4 separate regions of the Homo sapiens genome follow, and all the other regions are linked to region 4. The links are contacts of gene promoters, found by promoter capture Hi-C in blood cells and fetal thymus (Javierre and others, 2016). All regions are on one chromosome and are shown on one strand. Each heading gives the region's core, a stretch centred on a gene start or on the middle of the fragment in contact. The rest is flanking DNA. Distances are from core to core; before and after follow the strand shown.

Evidence for each region. The method cuts DNA at HindIII sites, captures the fragments that hold promoters and counts their contacts. A CHiCAGO score of 5 or more calls a contact.
Region 1: a fragment that was not itself captured here is called in contact with the fragment with the promoter of CCDC150 in region 4 in 1 of 17 cell types (non-activated CD4 T cells); the score reaches 5.8 in non-activated CD4 T cells.
Region 2: a contact is called between the fragment with the promoter of ORMDL1 here and the fragment with the promoter of CCDC150 in region 4, in 4 of 17 cell types (non-activated CD4 T cells, activated CD4 T cells, total CD4 T cells and 1 more). The highest score is 13.1, in non-activated CD4 T cells.
Region 3: the fragment with the promoter of OSGEPL1-AS1 here is called in contact with the fragment with the promoter of CCDC150 in region 4 in 3 of 17 cell types (non-activated CD4 T cells, total B cells and naive CD8 T cells); the score reaches 8.0 in non-activated CD4 T cells.

The regions. Positions count from the first base shown.
Region 1 is chr2:189,444,136-189,446,835 of GRCh38, reverse strand. All of the region lies in intron 1 of WDR75 (WD repeat domain 75), which reads right to left. Among named protein-coding and RNA genes, the nearest start is that of WDR75, 4.0 kb to the right of the region's middle. The HindIII fragment of the contact is 711 bases long and covers 1,020-1,730 here.
Region 2 is chr2:189,782,881-189,785,602 of GRCh38, reverse strand. ORMDL1 (ORMDL sphingolipid biosynthesis regulator 1) reads left to right here and starts at 1,264. Exons shown (of 5, transcript NM_016467.5): 1 at 1,264-1,334; 2 at 2,480-2,589. It overlaps PMS1 (PMS1 homolog 1, mismatch repair system component), which reads right to left and starts at 1,153. Exons shown (of 13, transcript NM_000534.5): 1 at 1,010-1,153. RefSeq lists enhancers at 736-785, 1,336-1,565, 1,576-1,635, 1,726-1,805, 1,091-1,977 and a silencer at 1,146-1,195. The HindIII fragment of the contact is 2,480 bases long and covers 1,236-2,722 here.
Region 3 is chr2:189,761,357-189,764,056 of GRCh38, reverse strand. OSGEPL1-AS1 (OSGEPL1 antisense RNA 1) reads right to left here and starts at 1,277. Exons shown (of 2, transcript NR_102429.1): 1 at 1,065-1,277. OSGEPL1 (O-sialoglycoprotein endopeptidase like 1) reads left to right here and starts at 1,265. Exons shown (of 9, transcript NM_022353.3): 1 at 1,265-1,372; 2 at 2,397-2,637. The coding sequence starts at 2,417. It also overlaps a transcript of ANKAR not described here and a transcript of ORMDL1 not described here. RefSeq lists enhancers at 590-1,336, 1,623-1,782. The HindIII fragment of the contact is 3,776 bases long and covers 1,190-2,700 here.
Region 4 is chr2:196,638,338-196,641,037 of GRCh38, reverse strand. CCDC150 (coiled-coil domain containing 150) reads right to left here and starts at 1,323. Exons shown (of 28, transcript NM_001080539.2): 1 at 1,260-1,323. The coding sequence starts at 1,271. LOC105373823 (a long non-coding RNA gene) reads left to right here and starts at 1,353. Exons shown (of 2, transcript XR_923747.3): 1 at 1,353-1,642; 2 at 2,471-2,610. RefSeq lists enhancers at 462-999, 1,000-1,537, 1,522-1,571, 1,592-1,811. The HindIII fragment of the contact is 4,677 bases long and covers 1-2,530 here.

The DNA of each region.
Region 1 (2,700 bases), core at 126-2,625, 7.2 Mb after region 4:
AATTGTTCTATTTTATTAGTTATTGATGTTAATCTCTGTGCCTGATTTATAACTTAAACTTTATCATAGGTATGTATGTATAGGAAAACATTTACTATATAGAGTGTCTGGTATTACCTGTGGTTCTAGGCATCCACTGAGGGTCCTGGAACATATCCTCTGTGGACAAGGGAGAGCTACTGTATTACAACACACTAAATTTGTTGCAAACTGGGACCACTACTATCCTATTTTATTAGTTCAAGACACTTGATTTTCACTTGTTCATCTCTTTGAAATTAGAATGCATCTTATAATCAATGGTCTCTTGTAAGTGCTGTCAGCCAGGAGGCATGGTTGTATGAAATGGTATAAGATCAAGAATGTATGAGCAACAAAGCATTTGCGATATATAACCTGCCCTTTGGCTGGAGCCTCTTCTCCATTCCCATGAGTACTTCAGTTCAGAAGCTTAACATCTCCAGCCTGGGCCACTCTTCAGGGCTTCCTACAGTCTCCAGGTACAGTCCTTCAATGCAGCTTTCACAGTCACACCAGACTAATTTTGCAAATTTGACCATATTACTTGCTCAGATAAAGCTAAAATCCTTCACTGTTTTCCCTCTGACTTTAGGAAATGATCTAAATTCTTAAGGCTTTGGTAGTCTGATCCCAGTCTAACTTGAACTACTTTTTCACTTAACACTGTGCTCTATTAAAATAGTTCATAACTCCAACAATTTCCCCCATCCCCCAGACACACCCTATCAATATGAAGAGGTCCTTTAGATATGGCTTCCTTGAGACAGTGGTGGGTAGGGGGCTACTGTTGGCCAAGAAAACTTTCCCTAATTGATTCTGATAAGCTTCCTCAGAAAAAAGGAATATCCTCTCTTCTTGTTTCTCAGCATAGAACAATGGCTTCAATTACTTAAACGCAACCCTTCAAAGTCAACTTTCTCTCCATGGTTTTGCACTCTCTGCTATCTACATAGAACACGTTTTCTAATTACTTCTTTTTTATTTCCTAAGAGTAAGCTTATTTTTTAACTTTTAATTTTGAAATAATTTTAGATTTACAGAAGAATTACAGAGTTCCTGCATACGCTTCACCTAGCTTCCACAAATGTTAGCACTTTACATAAGCACAGCATGTTAGTCAAAACTAAGATATTAACACTGGTACATGACTATTGACTACATAATTTATTTGGAGCTCTTCACTTTTTCCATTAATGTCTTTTTTATGTTCCTAGACCCCAGTCCAGCATACCACCTTAGTTGTCATATCTTCTCAGAACCTTCCAATCAGTGACAGTTTTTCAGTCTTTCCCATTTCTCAGAACTCTTGACTACTGCTTTAAGATTCAGCTCAGAATTTTCTCCCGGAAGCCCTTCCTCATCTTCTCATTCTAGATCAGCACCCGTCCTAATGTGCTTCTACACGACGGTGGGCTTAGCTCCATCACAGAACTTACCACAAGGCATTAAGACTGTCTGTGTACTATGTTTCTCCTCTACCAGACTGTGAGTCTTTGAGGTGAGACACTGTGTTTTCACTTATTAGAAACAATAATAAGTCAAACACAAATGGATTCGAATGTCAGCTTTATTATGTATTAGCTGAATGATGTTGGAGAATTTACTTAACCTCTTTAAACTTCACATCTCCACTTACAGTTAGCCACTGTAAAATGTAAATAACACGTTCTCATAGAGTTTAAGTGAAACATTGCATGCAAATACAAGCTTAGCATACACAGCAAGCACTCACTCAATAGGGATAATACCTTAACCTTGTAGACTGGAAGGTGTGTAATGCACCCACCACAACACCTGTCACATAGGATTCATCTTTGTTGAGAAAGTGAAGAAGTAAGAAATTAGGGATGTTTCAAGTCGGAACCAAGATTTAAACTAGACTCTGAAGGATGTATGATTTAAGGGGTGGGAAGAAAAAATAGCAACATAAGCAAGAGCAAGGAAATGGTATGATTATATACAAGACACAGATAATGTACTTATCTGACAAGCAAAGTGTCTATAATGGGTAGTATCAGGAAACAGTTGGGTAGGAAGAGTTGAGCTATATCAGAGAAGGGATTGAAAGCCATATAGAGGAGCTATAGTTAAGGAGGCAACAAAAAACTGTTAAAAAGTTCAGAGCAAGACTAGAAATAAGAGTTAGAGTAATAATGTTATAACAGTAACAACTTAGGAAAATTGTTACAGCAGCAATACTCAGAATGATCTGTAAGGGAAAAATACTGAGTTTGGGACATTAGCTTGTGGGCAATTTAGGAAAGTGAAAGGCAAGGATGACTCATTGTTTCAGTTTTCTCTACCCTAACAACCCCAGTGCAATAATTCACAGCACCATATAACTGTGGGATGCCGCAGAATGGGATGCAAACAGAACTGGACTGAGAGTCAGTAATATCTAATATGGGAACACCAGGAACTTACATGTATACCCACATGCCCCTCAGAACAACCTACTCAAGTACCTAGAACAGAGTTTTTGTTCTAGTTTCAAGAGGAAGCCGCCAAAATTCCACAAGTCTGTCTTTTTATGATTTTGGCTTTCTTGATAAGCACCTTGAGGTAAAATACAAAATTATTCCTCTTTGTATAAGGCAGCCAATCCCTTGTGGTACCTTGTAGATAATATTCAAATCTTTGCTGAGTTCATTAAAATCCTGTCATTTGTTAGATAAATGG
Region 2 (2,722 bases), core at 15-2,514, 6.9 Mb after region 4:
TCTGTTGCTCCTGACTCAGAGTTCTTTGAGGACAGGGGTTTTATATCAATCACACATCGCTAGCATAGCCCCTGGAATATAGCACTCTATACCATATGTGTACCAAATGGAAGGGTTTATATCGGGCTTACAAATCACAGCAAAGAATGTCTGGGAATATCAGGATAGTCAGTCTTCCATATTTGCTGGGAGGGAAAAGGAACACTTCTGAAGAAGTGCTGATGACCCGGAAAGTCAGTTAAGGACAACAGGTGTGCCTAAAAAAGAAGTAAAGATCAGAGAACTCACAGACTTCCATTAGAGAGAACACAAAGAAATCATTTATTTAAAGATCAGACTAAATCCAAAACAATTAGGTTCACAAAGCCAACAGAAATGCAAGATACAGACATACACAGCCAACATTCTCTTAAGTCAATTTCAAAATGTTGAAAGCTATTTCGGCAATAAAAATCACAAACTTTCTGCACTGCCAAGGTGAGGGAAATTACATTTCAAAGGCGATTCCAAAAAAACCTAATCAAGACTTTCCTCAGGATCAATTTTTGGTATTCACATTTCCTTAGCATGTAATACAGGTGCCTGTCTTCGGCGTACGGATAAACCCAGAAGGCCAAGAGCAAAAATCGTGATTAACTTTAAAGAGTTTAACTTGCACCCCTTGTATGATGCCACAGGATACAATACTATAAACCGCCACTCACACAAGATGAGTTACAGTTGCCATGGGTTAAATCTGCTGCCTGGAAAACAAATTTTAAGTCCTCCACCCAGAAGGGTCTGGGGAATGGGACGCAACAAAGACCAAGCCAGAACACCCCGGAGCCCAGACCTGCTCAGAAAACGCGTTCCACGTGTGCGCGCCCGCAAGCCCGGCTTCGCTTCCCGCCCCGCGGGGAGCGCCCTTAGCTGCCCTATAGCGTTCGCGCCCGGACCAGGACGAGTAGAGGGGACGGGGCCCTCGAGCCATCGAGGATATAATAAATACCCGTTAGTCACACCACACTACCTTCCTGCTAGCGCGAGGCAGGCAATTACCATCCACTAGCCGCAAGCAGCCAGCGTCTCACCCGATGCGCAGGCCCAACCCCGCACCCGCACCCGCACCCAGCACGCACGCGCGCGGCAGAGCGGGTGCAGAGAGCGCGGCACTGAGTCCCGCCTCGCCCGGGGGCAACGTGAGATTGGCGCTGCTCGCAGCCAATCCGCTGGCAGCGAGTCTGTCCGGGAAAGCTTCCGCAAGCTGCGCAGCGCCGGGCCTGAGGGCGTGTATCCGCGGCCGTAGCAGCCGGGCTGGTCCTGCTGCGAGCCGGCGGCCCGGAGTGGGGCGGCGGGTAAGTGGGCACGAACGCGGTGGACGCTGTACAGTCGCCTTCGTCGGTAGGGAACTGCTGGCGGCCTAGGGGTCGTCCTGAGAGGGAAAAGCGGGCTCCGGCTGCATCTGCGGCGCCCTGCGTGGCCGTAAGAGCCAAGTGGCCTCAGAGGCTCGCCCCCTACGCAAATCCTCGTTGTCTTGCCAGGGTCCTGACGTGACGTGCGGCCGCGAGAAGGAAGGGGCGGGTTGGGGGAGGCGCTGAGGTGGTAGCAGCGGCGGCTTTTGCTGAGTTTTCTCTGGCCCAGAGCGCTCGGGCTGTCGGTCTAGCAGGGGGGACTCCCCTGAGGGGCCGCTGCGGGTCGCCGTCTTCGGAGGCACCGGCGAGGGCAGAGCCAACAGCCTCTTCACGGTCTGTAAGGTCATTGTTTGCCAGTCGTGGGCAGCGCGGCAAACCTGCTGGGAAAAGGTTTTCTGGTTGGAATAGGATGAGTACCGCACCAGCTTTGCCTTCCAGCTGAGATGTAAATTTCAGGCCTCCATCCTGTGGAACGTGGGAAAACTATCTTGAGTGTTGGCATGTTCTAAGTATGACATAATAGTTTAATGTATGATAAATCATGGGTGTTTAGACGAAAGATTTACACATATAAATTGGAGGCTTTAGCGGTCTTAGTGTAACTAACTTTTCGTCCCCTTAACCCTTGATGCCTGTTCTATGGGTCTCTAGAGCGGAAGGAGCATTATACTCCGGAAACATTTGCTGGAAGGGGTTATGAGAAATTCCTCTCTGTATGCTAACTCCGTAATACAAGCGTTTGTGTATTTTAAAATCACAGCTGTTCCAAATATAATCTAGCCTCGTTTTCCCCCTCCGTCGGATGATAGGTGTTCTTCAGGACAGTTTTATTTTAAGCAATTCTTAGTCTCAAGTAAACACCATCATTAAAAGAACTGAGAACTATTATCAATTCTTCCTTTGGAGTCCATCTTCAATGGAAAGGAGAAGGGAAAACCTTTTTTAAAAAGAAGAAAGAAAACTGAAGTTTTTGATTTGACTAGAGAAATATTCAGAAGACTCCTTATTTTCACCTAGTTTAATCACAAAATTGAGAAACAAACATTATCCCTTGACCATGTAAATTTTACACCACATTATGTCAACAGCATGTACCTTCCACATTGAGTATTCAGAAAGAAGTGATCTGAACTCTGACCATTCTTTATGGATACATTAAGTCAAATATAAGAGTCTGACTACTTGACACACTGGCTCGGTGAGTTCTGCTTTTTCTTTTTAATATAAATTTATTATGTTGGTAAATTTAGCTTTTGGCTTTTCACTTTGCTCTCATGATATAAGAAAATGTAGGTTTTCTCTTTCAGTTTGAATTTTCCTATTCAGTAAAA
Region 3 (2,700 bases), core at 28-2,527, 6.9 Mb after region 4:
CCTAGTTGTGTGACCTCCAAAGCACCCAAACTCTGTGGCCCAGTTGCCTGTAAAATGAGGACAGAAACTATTTCATGGGATTTTGAAAGAAATTAATCTACAGCAGGTGCCTGGTACATAGTGCCACTTTATCATTATTGTTACACATAAATGAAATTTTTGAAAAACATAAGTTCCAAATAAAAAACCTCAACCATATTCTGGTAATTATTTACTTATTTATCTGTATCCACCTCTAGACTGTACTCTGTGGCTTCCCAACATGTTGTTATGGGATTTACTCATCTTTTATACCCAGAGCTTCACAACGTGCAAAGTGCAGGTATATATGCCAGCCCTGTACAACAGTGGATTCTAAGGTCCTTGCTTACTAAAATCTTAAATACCAGCAGGGGAAAAGCCTGACTCTTGGAATAAATCTGTCCAATGTTCAAAACAAAGTTCACAAACCAATAAAAGAAAAAAAAAAAAAAAAGCAGGTGCAAGACTTTGAAAACATACCATGCTGAATTTCATGTACATAGTAAGGAAGGACAACATAATGCATTATGAAAATAGGATGGTTTAAGGCAACTGAATATTTACCACAGCCTTTTTTTTTTTTTTTTTTTTTTTTTTGAGACAGAGTCTCGCTCTGTAGCTCAGGCTGGAGTGCAGTGGCGCGATCTCGGCTCACTGCTACCTCCGCCTCCCGGGTCCCAGTTCAAGCAGTTCTCCTGCCTCAGTCTCCCGATTTTTTTTTTTTTTAATTGTAAAAATAAGCCAGCCCCTTTCTTCCTAGTGAAGTGGGAGAAACGGTTTACACTGTCCGATGAGAAACACTTCCGTTCTTTGGTAACCCTGCTAGGGGGCGCCGCTAGATTCCATCCTATTTCTCCGATGAAAGTATCAGGTACCTCACCCCTAAGTTTAGATTTGATGATAGTTCCCTTAAAAATGAATGACGAATAATCTACCCCATCCTTTTCTCACAGTAGCAACCAAATTCCAGCCAAGGGCAAAAAAAAAATTTCTTTTTAATGTAGCTTAGTGTTTGGAACTTGATGTTGTGTAGTCAGACAAACCTGTATTCGGCCTCCGCTGGATCAGTCACTAGCTGTGTAATTTTACAGAACTCTCATCACCTGCAAATCTGGGGGAAATGCAGGTGCGCACAGAGAGCGTTTTGGGCAAAGACGGCCTTTAAGCTTTTCTTCACTAAGCATGCCGCTCGCTAGCGGAACAGCAGCCAGCTCTGGACGGGACCTTGCACAGTTCCGATGACATCACTTCCGGGCGCCAGGTTCGGGCTTTCTCCTGCAGCGATAAGGGCAGTCGACAGTCTTTAGTAGGGAAAGGAGACAAGTGCTAGCTACTGCCGCCCAAGTGGAAGGTGGGTGAAATTGCTCACTCTTCACCCCACTGACGCTTTTGCGCACCTGGAAAAGCGGTTCCAGTTTGCGCCCGTCGCCGCCTTACAGCCGACAGGAGACCAGCGCTACCCAAGTCACGTGGGTTCAGCCTGCAGCTTTCTTGGCCCGAAAGGGTAGTGCTTCGTACAATCCTCCTTGTCCAGATTTTGTTAATGCAAATCTAATTCCTCTAGGTTGTGTCTGTCTGGGCTGCACTGCCCGCAACTGCCTTCTGCAAATAGGTCGCTCATCTCTAATCCCTGGGATGCCGTGTCCCTTTAGTGTGGTGGAGAAAGGCCCTGCTTTAACACCCAGAAAGTTTTAGAACGGATGATCTGGGGGCATAAAATTAGGTGCTTCGCAGTGTGAAAATACTAGTGTGCTTTAGTGATGGGCTGCTATTATTTTGGGGGAAAAGGATTTGGGAAGATCCTTGTTATGACAAAACCTGTAGCAAAAAGTGGAGATTTAATTCCAAAGATTGCAATTAAGGATAAAATAGGTGTTAGGTTGCAGTTGGCGTGTGTGTGTTTATGTTAACTCTTGTTTTTGAACCAAATGATCCAGTTTTATTTTGAAAGATGTTTTTAGGAGATGGAATACATTAACAGTATTTTTATCTGTTCCATCTGCCTTTGTTGTTTGATTCTTTTTAGAAAATCCACATTTTGTCTTAATTTTAGCTGTCAAAAAATAAATAGCACTTTTCAGAGGACTCTATCAATTATTGTACTTTATATTAGCTGTCTTAATAGTAAGTCTTTTGGTAGGAACAGCATGCAAGTAATAATAATACTAAAAAATTTTATATCTGACCCCTGTTTTCCCCCTTGGAGAACATTATATTCATTCATAATATTATTTATATTCCCATGTTGCTATAGCCTTTACAAACTTTTGGTGACTTTTACAAACTTTCCTGTAATTCTGTAAAACTATATATTGAAAAATAAGCTGGCTAATGTCAGTTGCAAATAATAAGTTGTTTCTGTAATTCTTTTTCAGGAATTATCTATAGAGTAAGTATGCTAATCTTGACTAAGACTGCAGGAGTTTTTTTTAAACCATCAAAAAGGAAAGTTTATGAATTTTTAAGAAGTTTTAATTTTCATCCTGGAACACTATTTCTTCATAAAATAGTATTGGGAATTGAAACTAGTTGTGATGATACAGCAGCTGCTGTGGTGGATGAAACTGGAAATGTGTTGGGAGAAGCAATACATTCCCAAACTGAAGTTCATTTAAAGTAAGTAGACATTATCTTAGTCATTTCCACTTTTTTGGAAAAAGTAAAATCATTCTTTTGTAT
Region 4 (2,700 bases), core at 74-2,573:
TGAGCTGAGACTGCTGCACTCCAGCCTGGGCGACAGAGCGAGACTCCGTTTCAAAAAAACAAAAAACAGAATACACAGAGCCTTGAAGGCCATTGTAGAAGTCTGGCTTTTGCTGTCAGTGATTCTCAGAGTCACTGGAGGTCTATAGCTGAGGAATGCTATCCAACTTTCCTTTTAACTGGATCATTTTGACTCCCTCCCACTCCAAATGGTGGAAGAACAAAAGCAGAAGTAGAGATGCTGCTGGCCAGAACCAAGGTGACAGCAGCGGTATTCCTACTGTAAGAAGTGGTTAGTGGTTAGATATACTTGAAAGATAGCTTTTGCTGATGCATTAGATATGAGATATGAGGGAAAGGAAGAAGCCAAGATTACTACAGGGTTTTTGGCCTGGATGGTGCTATCACTGAGACAATGCAAACTTATTAAGGAAGAATCCGTTTTGTGGAAAAGATAAAGAGTAGTTTTTAAAATGTCAAATTTAAAACATGAAAGATACCAAATACATTATTGAATTTGTGGATCTGAAGTTTGGGGGTGAGGTGTGGACTGGAGACTAATTTCTGAAGAGCTCAAGAAAACCATAAGGCGGGATAACAGAGAACACAAAGGATTAAAGGACCTAGTCCTGAGCACGCCAAGATTAACAAATTAGAAGCATGTGTTGGGGGGCATTTAAGACGGACTAATACGAACTTCTCTAAAGTGGGGTTAAAAATAGACATTTTTCTATCTTTAGAGCCTAATACAGTGCCTGGGAAATTATAGGTGGTAAATAAACAGGAGAATACTTCGACAGGAATTTAACGAATGTCTATTCCGTTCTAGCAAGAGCGCCAGGTACTGCGGAAACCGTAAAGAACAAGTGCAAATTCCTGACACCTATATTCTGGTAAGCAAGCCAGGGAGGATTAACTGGTGGCAAAAATCAAACATTAACGCCGAAATAGCCTTCCCAGGAACCTATTAAACTCCAACTTAACACATAAATAAAGGTGGTATTGGGCTTATCTGGAGGCTTCGGTGGCTATCTCCCATCCCTCAGCTGGAGCCAGGCCAATGCAAACTTCGCTCCTAAATGGCTTTCACCGGCAGCCAACGCCAAAGCGCCTTAAATCAGGGCCCTGAGGTCCAGGGAGTGAGACTGGACTCCGTCAGGACAGGGAGAGGGCGCCAGGGAGTGGTGACTGTCCTTATCTGAGCCGAAGCCTCGCGAGCCTCCGACCACCCCTCACCAGCCCGGGGCCCGGCAGCCTCACCTTACAGTCCATCTGTCCGCCTGAGGCTCCGTACTGCAGCAGGCGAGCGGGTTTCCGTGGAACTAACACAGCATTTTAAACCAACCCGCTCCCCGGCGCAGTAGCTCCGGTACGCAGGCGCACCCGTGGCAGGGCATGTCGGGAACTGTAGTTTTCCCGGCCCAGGAGGGCCCTCAGCCCTGGGCGGGACCCAGGCCGGCATCCGGCGGCGCTCAGGGAATGCGTAGCGCCGTGAACCGAATGGCGGCAGGCTCCACTGTGCTCGCGAGCGGGGCACGCCGGGATATGTAGTTTCCGGCGCCTGCCCTCCGGGGGGTCCTGTGCTGCCCACTTCACAGTGACTTGTCTCCGCCTGGTGAACTCGCGGTGTTCTGCTAATCTTGGTAAATACATACCCTACAGCAGAGTAACGAGCATAAAAATTGGTTAAAAATTCAGAGCTTAAACATTCTTCTCGTTAAAGGAAAAATCAAGTCCCTCTTCGTCCTCGTCCATGATGGCCACATGGAGAGTAAAACACAGAAATCTGTTTTCAGGTCTTTCGTCTCTTCAGCATAAATTATTTCTTGCCCTGTCTACAAGTTAATAGGTATTTGTAAATCTGAGTGTAAGTAGCTATGAAACGGAAAAGAGCATTGAGCTGTCCCTGGTTTTTTTGGTGGTTTGCTTTTTTGAGATAGGGTCTTCCTCTGTCGCCAAGGGTGGATTACGGTGGTGCGATCTCGACTCACTGCAGCCTCGACCTCCCGAGCTCAAGCGATCCTCCCATCTCAGCCTCCCCAGTATCTGGGACCACAGGCGCGCGCCACCACGTCTGGCTAATTTTTGTATTTTTTCGTGGAGGCGGGGTCATCACCATATTGCTCAGGCTGGTCTCTTTGGGCTCGAGCCATCCGCCCACCTCGGCCTCCCAAAGTCCTGGGATTACAGGCGTGCATCACCACACCAGCGTTTCTGAGTTGTTTTGCTTTAAGAATATGTATTCTCACTTAAGGGAAAGCCTTCTATAGTGCAAAGACGCGGCTTTGCGTTTTGGTAGCTGGACAGAACACCTGTTATCCCTGCCAGGGCAATTAAAATGCATTTCTCTCTTCTCCCTGAGAGTGCAGCCAAGAATCACTTCAGCCCTCTCATATAAGCAATCAGATCCGAGATGAGAGCTCATTTACTTAGCCTGACAATTGATCTTGCTATTCTAATTCTTTTCATAGCGGAGCCTCAATGTGAGATGCAGAGACTGCCCATCAAACCACAGCCATATTCATCAAGCTTTGAGCCGATCCGGTGAAGAGAAATGAGCACTGCATACATTATTCAGAGAAAGGGACCAAATAAAGCTTTTAATAGGAAATGAAAATGTATTTTAAAGCGTCAGTGCAAACAGCCAATTATTTTCATTATGTATGTTTTATCTTGCAATGACCTCTGGTTTATCAGTGGA